Linked DNA regions of Homo sapiens: region 1 is linked to region 2. The links are contacts of gene promoters, found by promoter capture Hi-C in human tissues and cell types (Jung and others, 2019). All regions are on one chromosome and are shown on one strand. The core of a region is centred on a gene start or on the middle of the fragment in contact, and the rest is flanking DNA. Distances in the headings are between cores, read along the strand shown.

Region 1 (6,188 bases), core at 3,415-5,914, 350 kb after region 2:
AAGACAAATGCACATATCATGAAGATATATGCCATTTCTTTCACGATAAATTGTTAAGTCTGGGCTTCTCAATATAATACACTGCAAGAGGACTAAGCAACCATTAGCCATAGGCATTACACATTTGACCACTCTTATGTTCTACCACTTTATAGGGAAATCTGTTATGAATAATTTGTAGTTTTCTATTGATTTTTTCCCCCCTTAGCCTTCGTCTCCACAGACAGGAATTTGTTGTAACATAGATTGCAGACTGGGTGTGGTGGCTCATGCCTGTAATTCCAGCAGTTTGGGAGGCTGAGGCAAAAAATCAGCCAGGTATTGTGGTGCACACCTGTAGTCCCAGCTAGTCAGGAGGCTGAGTCAGGAGGATTGCTTGAGCCTGGGAGTCAAGGCTGCAGTGAGCTATGATTGCACCACTGCACTCCATCCTGGGCAACAGAGCGAGGGTCACAAAAACAACAGCAAACAACAACGTAGATTGCATTGCACAAAGGTCATTACATGCCTTTACGTCAGGGGTTCCAACTTGAGAACCATGGGTTGGTTTTAGGAGGTTCAAGCAGAATTTTGTATGTGCATTTTTCTGAGAAGAAAGTCTAATGTTTTCATCTCAAAGGCAGCATATGTGACCTAAAAATAGATAGCTACACACCACTACTCCAGCAAAACTGAAAGCTGTCCAGATTAAGCCAGATCACCAAGAGCTGCCGTATTTTCAGATGTTTCTTCATTTACTCGACAAATGTTTGAGCACCTGCTTTGGGCACTGTTTTAAGTGCAGAAGACAGTGGTGAACAAGATAGGCAGGATCCCTCCTCTCACAGTCCCCCTTTGTTGGAGGGAGATCCACAACAAAGAGTGCTAATTTAAATAGTTTTAGATGGAATTTCAAATAGCTTTTAGATGGTATGAGAAAAATAAAACAGGTTAATGTGATAGTGACTGGAGGTGAGGTGGGCCACTTCAGATTTGGTGATCAGGGAAACCCTCTTTAAGGCGGTGGCATTTGAGCACATAACTGAGTGAAATTGGGAAATATAGGGAAATAGCATTCCTGGCAGAGGGAAGAGCAAGAGCAAAGTCCTAAGGTGCTGTTAGGAAAGAGAAAGGGTAATAGTATGGCTATAATGTAGTGTGCAAGAGGAAGAGGGGCAAATGAAATTAGGAGGATTATCAGAGCCAAATCATGTAAGGCCTTGAGGGTTTTGTTAAGGAGTTTGGATCATAGGTATGATGGGAAATCATTCAAGGGTTTCAAGCAGGTTAGTGTCATACTCTGATTTGTATTTTGAGAGTTTATTCTGGCTGTTTTAAGGAGAATAGATTTAAAAGGGACAAAATTAGAATCAGGAAGAGCAATTAGATGATTGTTTTGGTAGTCTAGACTACAGATGATAGAATTGCTGTAGTAACTACTGATGATTGGGTTCACTGTATTTCATAGTAGGTCATAGTAGCTCCCAGCAGACTCAGAGATTTCTGCTTTCAGTATTACAGATAGTTGAATTTACCCTGAGCAACTGGTTTGTTTTTATTTCAAGAGAACTGTGAGTTGTACAATTAATGGTAGTTTATTCTGTATTTTGGAGACAGAAAAACTCAGGAATATAGCATAGCATCACATGTATTTTGTGTACTAACCTCCTCATCTTTCCTACTCTCATTTTCTCGTGGCCCTGGCTTTTCTCAGTTAACTAAGTTAAATTTGTCTTGCATATGTTTTTGTAAATTGCCTTAAAACCCGTTTGGAACAATGCAATATGTAAATAAATTAAGCGTTTGTTAGTGGACTCCTAAAACTGTTCGCAGTAAAAAGCATTAGGTGTGGGTAGATTTTGATTTATTTGCTTGTTTATTTGTCATTTATTTCTTCAATAAAAATGATTGAGTGCCAGGCACTGGGGAAAAAGAAGTGAGTGGTAGAAATTAAATAAGAGCCAGACTATTGGAGAGATAAGTTAGTTGGCAGTAATGAGATAAAGTTGAAGACAAAGACTATTGGATTCTGAAAGACAGCTAAAGGATAAAAAGTTAGGAGTGTAAAAAGAAAGCCACCAAAGTATCTGAATGACTTGTTGACAAGAACACTATTGTGTAGGAAATCAGAGACAGGATGGAGTCCTGCACTTCTTAATAACTACTGCATGACTTTGGAAACTGTTTCCTGAACTATTTCAACTATATATATTAACAATGGTTTAATGAAATCTGTGAGGGAAAATGTTGTAGAGTTTACTTCTGGGAGAGAGCTTTTACCTGGCATGCTTAATCTTGATTGCTAAAGTTAGGAATTATGTGAAGCTTGCAGTAAAGAGGTTATCAGTTGATTGAGTCAGCAGCTACCATCTATTGGTTTTTAACACTTCAACAGGGCAGTGGCATCGCTATGCCAGGTTCATATCATAGGTGAACTATTAAAAGCTGACAGTTTCTTCCACCAGTCTTGCTTGAAAAGGGAAGTACCCTGGGCACCCACCTCCTTGTTCTTAGCCCCTCACCCATTTTCTTTTATCCTTTTATACATGGCCTGATAATCTCTCTCTACCATACCCCCAAATGATTATAAGGTTTAGGAAAGAAGTTCCCATGTACATCACCATAGAAAGATAGGAAAACCCTGATAAACATACACTTGTATTTGACTCAAAATGAACAACTTTGAGTTCTGTCTAAAGGGACATGAACAAGCTTTGAATCTTATGAAGGAATTGTTTGGCCAGAATTCTTGCCATAGAGACTGGACGTCTGCCAGGACTTTACTTTGAAATTTCTGTCTTCTGTTTCTAATCTTAAGGCATCACAACATACAATTCTTTTGCCACTGGTCCAGTTTATTCTTTTATGATGAGGAAGAAGGCACTTTTAAATAACAATTATTTCCACTATAATTAAACAAATCTTCTTTTGTTTGCATTATTTTGTTACTATATTGTATACACACCCTGCCTGCTTAAACTTGCCCCTGTGACTACTTCACAGGAACTTTCTTTAGAAGTTTTAAAGTCGTTGACTTCTTAAAGTATTAATGGGATTTGCCAAAGTTGTAGTATCTGAATGCTTGACTAGATATAGTAGCAGGACAACAAGCTTGTTCACACAGCTCCTCCAGCAAGCATTTTTTCCTCAGACAATCCTAAATTCATTTGAAGTGCCAAAGAATTAAAGGAAGATACATTTGGGTTTACTTCTGAATATAACAAGACCAGACATCTCACAAAGTTTACCTTAAGGTCCAGATATTAGAAAAGTATGCTGCCCTTTTGGGAAAGCTTAGATTTTAAAGGATTAGTCTGAACCTAAATGACTTTTGCGTTTTTCTTCTTTTTGCTCCAGTGTCATAATTCCGGAAGTTTATAGTTTATGTGCTTAAATATGTAGGTGATAGGTGCTTATGCCTTCAGCTATCGATATGAACTTTGAACTCAAATTTTTATGATTATTTTAAGAGTAAACGTTAGAGCTGTTTTGTAGTTTGGAAAATTACCCTGTAAAATGATTTTTCAAAAACCAAAAACAAACACTGTGATAATTACAAAAATTGTTTATGCTCACTGTTTTTAAAAATTTCTTAAAAGTACTATAATTGCACACTCACAAAAAGTTACAAATATAGTTTAGAGAGGTCCCTTGTACACTTCCCCCAGTGCTAACGTTTTACATAGCTATAGTATTTGTCGAAACCAGGAAATTGGGGCCTGTCGTGGTGGCTCACGCCTGTAATCCCAACACTTAGGGAGGTTGAGGTGAGCGGATCACTTGAGGCCAGGAGCTCTAGACCAGCTTGGCCAACATGGCAAAACCCCGTCTCTACTAAAAATACAAAAATTAGACGAGTGCATTGGCATATGCTTGTAATCCCCACTAGTTGGGAGGTTGAGACATGAGAATTGCTTGAACCTGGCCTGCGGAGGTTGCAGTGAGCCAAGATCTTGCCACTGCACTCCAGCCTGGATGACAGATCAAGACTCTGTCTCCAGAAAAACAGAAACGAAAACACAGGAAGTAGATATTGTATGTTCACTGTTAAACTAAAATCAAACCTAAAAAGAAAGCTCTCAGGCCGGGCACGGTGGCTCACACCTGTAATCCCAGCACTTTGGGAGGCCGAGGCGGGCAGATCACCGAAGGTCGGGAGTTCAAGACCAGCCTGACCAACATGGAGAAACCCCATCTCTACTAAAAATACAAAACATTAGGCATGATGGCGCATGCCTGTAATGTCAGCTACTTGGGAGGCAGAGGCAGGAGAATCACTTGAGCCTGGGAGGTGGAGGTTGCAGTGAGCCGAGATCACACCATTGCACTCCAGCCTGGGCAACAAGAGTGAAACTCCATCTCAAAAAAAAAAAAGAAAAAAAAGAGAAAGCTCTTATTTTCCCCTCCTCTTCAGTCTTTCACAGTCATTATTTCCCTCCAGACCTTTGTAGTGTACATTCGAACATGTATACATGCAGATACTTACATGCACACATGTAGTTATTTCCTTTTTGGGGGAGGTATGTTATAATTCACATTTTTCATGCAACATATGCTTTCATATTGGTAAATATGGATGTTTCATTCTTTTTAATTTCTTTGTACTGTCTATAGTGTACATATACCATAATTTATTAAACAAGTCCTCATTTGTTGGACATTATGGATTCTTTAGTTTTGTCTATCTATTAATGAAGCTGCCATTAATATATTTATACATATATATCGAGCACTTGTGTAAGTATTTCTGTAGGCCTTTAGAAGTGGAATTACTGGGTACTGCTGAAAAAGCTCTCCAAAAAAGTATATAAATCAGAATTATTTTTAAAAGAGATACGTAACTTGGCAATATGACAATAAATAAAGCTAACAGATTTATGGAAAAAATTAAGTCATTTAAGTTTGCAGTTGGGCAAATACAGAATATTTCTTATTTACAATATAAGCATTATTGTAATATGATACATTTTAAGGTAAATTTTCAGTGAGTTACACAAGGATTAAATCTTTGTTTCCACAGACTGTGCATAATGTAAAAAGAGACAGTCCCAGATTTACCTGTTTTCAATTATCAATATTCCTGCTCTTTTTTTCACTGAAAGGGATAGGTTAAAATTTTTAGAACAGTTTGTCAACTATGGAGGGTAGTGATATTCTGGCCTTTGATAAATATCATATATGCAGTAAACTAATGATTAACTATTAACATTGGCATTACTCAACAAGGAGCTATATCTTTTCTCTCAAAATTAATTCACATTTTTGCCAAACTTCCTTTCTTCTTCTACTTTTTTTTTTTTTTTTTGGAGACAGGGTTTCTCTGTCGCCCAGGCTGGAGTGCAGTGGTGTGATCATGGCACATTGCAGCCTCAACCTCCCCAGGCTCAGGTGATCCACCTCAGCCTCCGGAGTAGCTGGGACTACAGGTGCATGCCACCACACCCAGCTGATTTTTGTATTTTTTGTAGAGGCAGAGTCTTGCCATGTTGCCCAGATTGTTCTGAAACTCCTGGCCTCAAGCGATCCACCTCAGCCACCCAATGTGCGGGGATTAATAGGGCCACTACATCCAGCCCTATTATTCTCCATTTTTTTTTTTTGAAATGGAGTTTCTCTCTTGTTGCCTAGGCTGGAGCATAGTGGTGTGATCTCAGTTCACTGCAGCCTCTGCCTCTCAGGTTCAAGCGATTCTCCTGCCTCAGCCTCCTGAGTAGCTGGGATTACAGGCACGTGCCACCACACCCAGCTAGTTTTTCTATGTTTAGTAGAGGCAGGGTTTCGCCATTTTGGCCAGGCTGGTCTCAAACTCCTGACATCAGGTGATCCGCCTGCCTTAGCCTCCCAAAGTGCTGGGATTACAGGTGTGAGCCACCGCACCTGGCTATTACTCATTTTTAAGAAATATTTTTCTCGGGCCGGGTGCGGTGGCTCACGCCTGTGATCCCAGCACTTTGGGAGGCCGAGGTGGGCGGATCACGAGGTCCGGAGATCGAGACCACGGTGAAACCCCGTCTCTACTAAAAATACAAAAAAATTAGCCGGGCGCGGTGGCGGGCGCCCGTAATCCCAGCTGCTCGGAAGGTGGAGGCAGGAGAATGGCGTGAACCCGGGAGGCGGAGCTTGCAGTGAGCCGAGATCGCGCCACTGCACTCCAGCCTGGGCTACAGAGCGAGACTCCGTCTCCAAAAAAAAAAAAAAAAAAAAAAAAA
Region 2 (6,333 bases), core at 1,526-4,025:
TGAAGTATTTAAAAGTAAGCTGCACATATGACCCATCACTCCTAAAGACTTTAGCTTGCAACTCCCAAGATCGCATTTTCCAAAGTAACCTGCAATACCAATCACATCTAAAAGATTAATAATGTCAACTAACATATACTTCATAGTTTGTCCCCATTATCCCCCCCCCCAATAAAAAGCAATGTCTTTTATAGTTTTTTTTTTTTTTTTTTTTTTGAGACAGAGTCTGGCTCTGTCACCCAGGCTAGAGTGCAGTGGGGCGATCTCGGCTCACTGCAAGCTCCGCCTCCCGGGTTCACGCCATTCTCCTGCCTCAGCCTCCTGAGTAGCTGAGACTACAGGCGCCCACCACCACGCCTGGCTAATTTTTTGTATTTTTAGTAGAGACGGGGTTTCACCGTGTTAGCCAGGATGGTCTCGATCTCCTGACCTCGTGATCCGTCCGCCTCTGCCTCCGAAAGTGCTGGGATTACAGGCGTAAGCCACCGCGCCCGGCTCCTTTATAGTTTTTTAAAATCCAGAATCCAGTTAATTGGGATGATATGAGGCCTTGTGAAAATCCTCATCCTCAACATTTCACGTGTTAGTTGATGATGATTCTTCTTGAATTATTACGTTTTTCGATTGTACCAATTTTTCTACATCTGTTAGCTGACATTCTTCCAGCTTTCACATCCACTGCACCTTTCTCTCTCTGAGTACCACTATGGACTCACGAATTGTTATATTCAAAGTGGTATAATCCCTAATGTATTTTTAAAGCTTAAATCACCCCAAATTTTGCCGATGGAAACCACTCCAAGGTGGTCCCTATTTTCTTTTCACGGTTTCTGACACAAGATGTCTTTGAGCTTACCTTGTACTTTTCTTGCCCTAGATCTAGAATCAGCCACTTCTTCAAGGACTTACTTATACGACGAATAGGTCATACATCCATCTAGTGCAAGTCTCCAGATATTCACAGCTATACATGCCCCCTCCAATCCCACCCCTTTCTTCATAGTCAGCCAATGTTCGTTATCCTTCCAGAGATAGTTTATATCATGGAGTAATATAAAAATTTATGATTTATATGTACTGTATAATAGAGCAATTATATTCTTACCTACCCCCAACATGCTTTAACTCGAATGATAGTGTAGTACACTTCTGAGTTTGTCTGGGCTTGTAGCTCTTGTCTGTCATTAGATTCTGAAAGATACCTATTAACAATACCCTAAAAAGATCAGGAGCCTTTAGGCCAAGTCTCAAACGTTTCAGATGAGAAAAACTCAGGGATGGTGACTTGACGGAAGTTGCATTAACTAACAACGCTCACATGCTATTCTCCGGACTTGGAATGTCCAAGCACCCTGGGCTTGCTGACACCCACTCACTTTTCAAACATCAATTCTTGGGAAGCTTTTCCCTTCCTTAATGTCCCCCAGATAGGTGATGTCCCCTTGTTACAGGTTTTAGACCATTATGTACATCTCCTTCCTAGCACATACATATATTAAAATTTGTTTCCTGTCTCCATGAGGAGAGGGACTACATCTGTCCTTTTCACTGCTGGCACACAGTAGTTGCTCAACAAAAATGTGCGAAGTGAAACTCGAACAGGCGGTCAGGCTCACAGTCCACGCCTCTTCCTACTGTGGTCCCGCTGTGTTTGGACAAATAGTTCCAAATTATAAACTTTAAAACCTGAGAAGTCTCAATAGAAAAAGCAGGGAAGTCTTTCCATTTCCATGATTAATGGAGGACCTTAGCAGAAACGGCTCACCGCGAGGTGTGACGACCGCAGGAGGGCGTCAATCAAGAAAATGCCCCCTTGCCCCGGAGGCGAGTGGAGCCGCACAGAGCCGAGGCCATACGGGCCAGCAGTACGGACTGCTTCAATAGAAAACACGTGCAAAACCAGAGAGCCAGACTGCGCACAGCTGCGACCCTCAAGAGCCAGCAGAAAAGACACGGAGCGGCCCCCACTGGATTGAAGACTGCACAGCCTCTGCCCGGCGCTGTAGGACCCGGGCCTCCCCTTGATTGCTGCTCGCAGCGGCTTCTGCCAGCATCCTCGCGGAAGTGGCTTGAGTCCGAGGCCTCCAAATGAAACCAGGTGGAGCGGCCAAGAGTCCGCAGCACCTGAACTCCAGCCATCCGAATCCCGCCGGGCCGCAGCTAAGGGCCGCCGAGCAGCCCTAGGAACCCAGGGCACTGTCCCGCTCTGAGCTCGGGAAACGGCCGGTGTGACAGCCAGCGCCACTGTTAATCCAGGGAGCGCACCCACCGAGGAGGCGTCTTAGGCCAGCGGCCTCTGCTCCCGCCGAGTCCCGCTGCTCCCCGCCTGGAAACAGCTGCTGCCACCCCGGGCCCAGGCCTGGACGGCGCCCCCGAATTTCGGCAGAGGTGCCTCGGGGCCGCGGACAGGGCCGCTGGAGCCCGCACTCCAGAAGGCGGTCTTCCTCGCGCCTCCCCCGACGGACGCGGCCCAGGGCTTCCCTCGAGGGCGTCCTCGGCCGGGGTGCCTGGAGTCCCCAGGGGCGACAGCCGCGGCGGGGCACCAGGGCGCCAGTTCCCCGGAGCCTGGTAGCAAGCGCGTCCCGGGGGCGGGGAGCTTGGCCGGCGGGGCGGGCCGGGGTGGGGGCGGGCGGCTGCTCTTGGGGCCCCGCGCCATTGGCCGCAGGGCCCGGCGGCAGGAAGGGGCCAGCGAGCGCGGCCCCACCCCGCGGCCGGCGGAGCCTATCGCCGGGAGCGCGGAGCGCGGATAAATGTAGCGCCGCGGCGCGGGCCAGCAGCTCTGCGAGGGGCCGGAGCGCGGCGGAGCCATGCAGTACCCGCACCCCGGGCCGGCGGCGGGCGCCGTGGGGGTGCCGCTGTACGCGCCCACGCCGCTGCTGCAACCCGCACACCCGACGCCCTTTTACATCGAGGACATCCTGGGCCGCGGGCCCGCCGCGCCCACGCCCGCCCCCACGCTGCCGTCCCCCAACTCCTCCTTCACCAGCCTCGTGTCCCCCTACCGGACCCCGGTGTACGAGCCCACGCCGATCCATCCAGCCTTCTCGCACCACTCCGCCGCCGCGCTGGCCGCTGCCTACGGACCCGGCGGCTTCGGGGGCCCTCTGTACCCCTTCCCGCGGACGGTGAACGACTACACGCACGCCCTGCTCCGCCACGACCCCCTGGGTAAGGCGGCCGGGCGAGGGTGGGGGCGAGGAAGCGCCACCCGGCAGGTGGCAGCGCCCGGGAGGCCGAGGGGGCGAAGGGGGCAGGCGGTAGACGGCTGTGGCAAAAGCGATGGAAAAGCAGCTGTCGGGCACGCGCGGGGACGGGAGGCGCGCGGCCGGGGCTGACCGCACCGTGACTCAGATTGGTTTTCCTGCACCTTGCAGGCGTCGGGGCGCGCGGGCCGGCGGTAGACCTCGCGGCGAGGGCAGCCGTGGACCGCGCGTGTTACCCGGGGTGGGGCTCCCTTAGCGGGAGGGACGGGGAAAGGGGCGTCGAGGCGCCCCTGGCCGGCCCCCGTGGGGCAGGGATCGCAGCCGGGCCCGGGTGGCTACGGGGCTGGACCTGGTTCAACAGGCTTGTGCAGTGAAAGAGCCTGACCCTTTCCGTTCATACAGGAAATCTTGAGTTCTCGATAGGAGTAAATCTGGTTTCAGAAGCTGTTAAGTGTTTTCCTGGCTGCATGAAGCAGACCCTTCCCCCGGAGTAGTGCACGCTGCTGATTATTTTATCGACATCCTCAATACAGACAAATTCAGGAAACACTCGACTTCTGATAGCCGGGATCCGTTTTTCTGATATTGTTCATTTCCTCTGTGTGGGATGTGACTTTATGGCAGCTAAAATAACCAGTTGCTTCCTATTTTTTTTCGAGGCTGTTTTGCACCAGTCTGAAGCCTGACGCAAGCAAAATCTCGAAAAAACAATGCTAGCTTTCAAAGCGTTGAGGTGCAGGCCTGCAGACGGACGGACGGACCGACCGACACTACTTTGGGAGTAGGAAGCAGCAGCTCCTGGTCGCCAGTTAGGAAGGGAAGCAGGGACACATAGGGCATATATTCCAGAACTTCGGGGCTTGTCCCCTCAATGTGCGGCCTAACAAATAAGCCGCCCGTGGTCCGCGCTGTGGGTGACCCTTGGCGCCTTCGAGGTCTGGAGCCCTAGGGTAAATAAGGAAACGGGGCGCCTCTAGAGTTTTAAATGAACTCTGTTATTGGAAGCTTCAGTAGGGACCCTGAAAACAATTAACGTCTTAATTAGCATTTTAATGTCTCCATTATTACGGCGCGGGCTCTAGCTCAGCCCTTTACCTTACCTTCTCACCGTTAACAGGGGAGGGGGATTGTATTTTTAGTTCATCTTTTTATGTTTTTGAGTTGTTATCCTGTCTGTCTGATTCCAGCCTCGAGGGTTTGATGATGCGGCCCGAGCCTGGCTGTGGTCGCCTGTCGGGGCTGGAGCGGGACCCTCAGCCGGGCCGGGCCTGGGGGCTAACGTTTTCACAGTGCGCCCTGAGTTTCCTTGGGTTACTGCTGGGACCGCGCAGGAGGAAGCAAAGAGTTTTTCGAGCTAGACCAACAGGAAACACATTGACGGAAATGTTGCCATAGCCCATGGGGTGGCTTTAACTGGCCGCCCCCGCGGGCTGGGTGTGAAATCAGAGGAGGCCGCGGCTCCCCCGGCCAGGATTGGAGGCTCCTCGCGCAACCTAATGCGGGTGTCCGGGCCCGAGCGCTTCCCGCGCAGCCAGGCCTTGTCGGTGCAGCAGCCCCGCTCCTCCCCAACACGCACACACCCGGTGTTCGCAAGTGCGGCTCACCAAGGGAGATCCAAGGGGGCAAAAAGTTATGTATAAATCCGAGAGCCACTGGGGAAAGAGGGTCGTGGTATTGTAAGCCCAGCCGGTAGTGCCCATTCTTTTTGGGGTTAAAGGTATGTCTGGATTTAGTTCTAGGTGTGACGGCTGTGTGTCTGTCTGTGTGTGTACAAGGCTGTGTGCATCTGCGGTGTCAGTGTGTGACTTTGGGTATGTTTGTGTGTCGGTGGGAACGTGTTAGGTCCACGTGCCGGTGGGTGTATGTGAATGTGTCTGGTTGGGTGGCCTCCTGGCCTACCTTTGTCATCCCTGGGGCCCGACAGCTCTGGGGTCTGGCCAGGCCGCTCCAGGGCAGTGGGTGAGCGCCGCTCTTCCCGCTCGCAGGCAAACCTCTACTCTGGAGCCCCTTCTTGCAGAGGCCTCTGCATAAAAGGAAAGGCGGCCAGGTGAGATTCTCCAACGACCAGACCATCGAGCTGGAGAAGAAATTCGAGACGCAGAAATATCTCTCTCCGCCCGAGAGGAAGCGTCTGGCCAAGATGCTGCAGCTCAGCGAGAGACAGGTGAGCTCGCGGGGGGCCTGGGGCCGCCTCCGGGGAAGGGAAGGCTTCTGGGGTAGGGGTCGCCGGGCCACCGAGAGAGAGGCGAGGAGCCACCCTGCCCTCTGGCACGTCCCGACGCGGGCTCGTTGCAAGTTTTCTTTCTCTCTTTCCTGTAGGTCAAAACCTGGTTTCAGAATCGACGCGCTAAATGGAGGAGACTAAAACAGGTATGGACATGGTTCTGTTTCTATGGAAATAAATATTTTTATCACGTTATCTCAGTGCAAGGCTGTTATGGGTTGTATGCAAAAGTCATTTAAGAGACTATTTAACCTCTTCACCTTGATTAAAAAGACAAATAGTCCTGCTGAAATTCAGGATGAGTTGCTCAGGTGGCAGTAATGCTAAAAGCACCTAATGGGGTTCCTATATCAATTATGCTTGGGTTTTCACACACTGGCTAGTAAAACTCCCAGCTAATTGTTTTATAAATCCCATATGTTGTTTATCTAATTAACGCAGGAAAGATAAAGTAATTGACAGTAAATGACTTAAGCAGTTATCTTTGGGAGAAAATTGTTTCTTTTATTTACACAGCCATAATAAAACCAGGCAGAACTCAAGGGTAAATATAAAGAAACAAACACCTTTAAGTCTTGTTTGCACTGTTTTTTAGAAGAATTAAATGTCAGGGAGTTTAAAAATTATTTTCTATCTAATGCCAGCTCTTAAAATGAAATATAAAACTTGTAAGAAAATATTCAAGCCTGTTTGGAAAGTAGCTTAAACTTTCTGACAGTCTTTCTTCCAGTGACCTTGTTTCGCAATATGTGATAAAAAGTAAAGGCTAATTTAGTTTTTAAAAGAAGGTCTATTGACTTAAAGCTAAACATTCATTTTTGATGTCCTAATCTGGATATACTCTCCAAAGTTATCTGATAATTGCTGAATTGTTCACTTGTCATTGTATATACGGTTTATAATAAA

Evidence for each region. Contacts are between HindIII fragments. The study calls those that stand out against the background at their distance.
Region 1: a contact is called between a fragment that was not itself captured here and the fragment with the promoter of HHEX in region 2, in 1 of the 25 tissues and cell types used here (H1 embryonic stem cells).

What each region holds. Positions count from the first base shown.
Region 1 is chr10:93,031,878-93,038,065 of GRCh38, forward strand. All of the region lies in intron 20 of EXOC6 (exocyst complex component 6), which reads left to right. Among named protein-coding and RNA genes, the nearest start is that of CYP26C1, 26 kb to the right of the region's middle. The HindIII fragment of the contact is 4,334 bases long and covers 2,498-6,188 here.
Region 2 is chr10:92,687,180-92,693,512 of GRCh38, forward strand. HHEX (hematopoietically expressed homeobox) reads left to right here and starts at 2,776. Exons shown (of 4, transcript NM_002729.5): 1 at 2,776-3,168; 2 at 5,189-5,367; 3 at 5,523-5,573. The coding sequence starts at 2,808. RefSeq lists silencers at 2,267-2,506, 2,577-2,896, 3,317-3,396, 3,407-3,556 and an enhancer at 4,087-4,894. The HindIII fragment of the contact is 5,410 bases long and covers 1-2,804 here.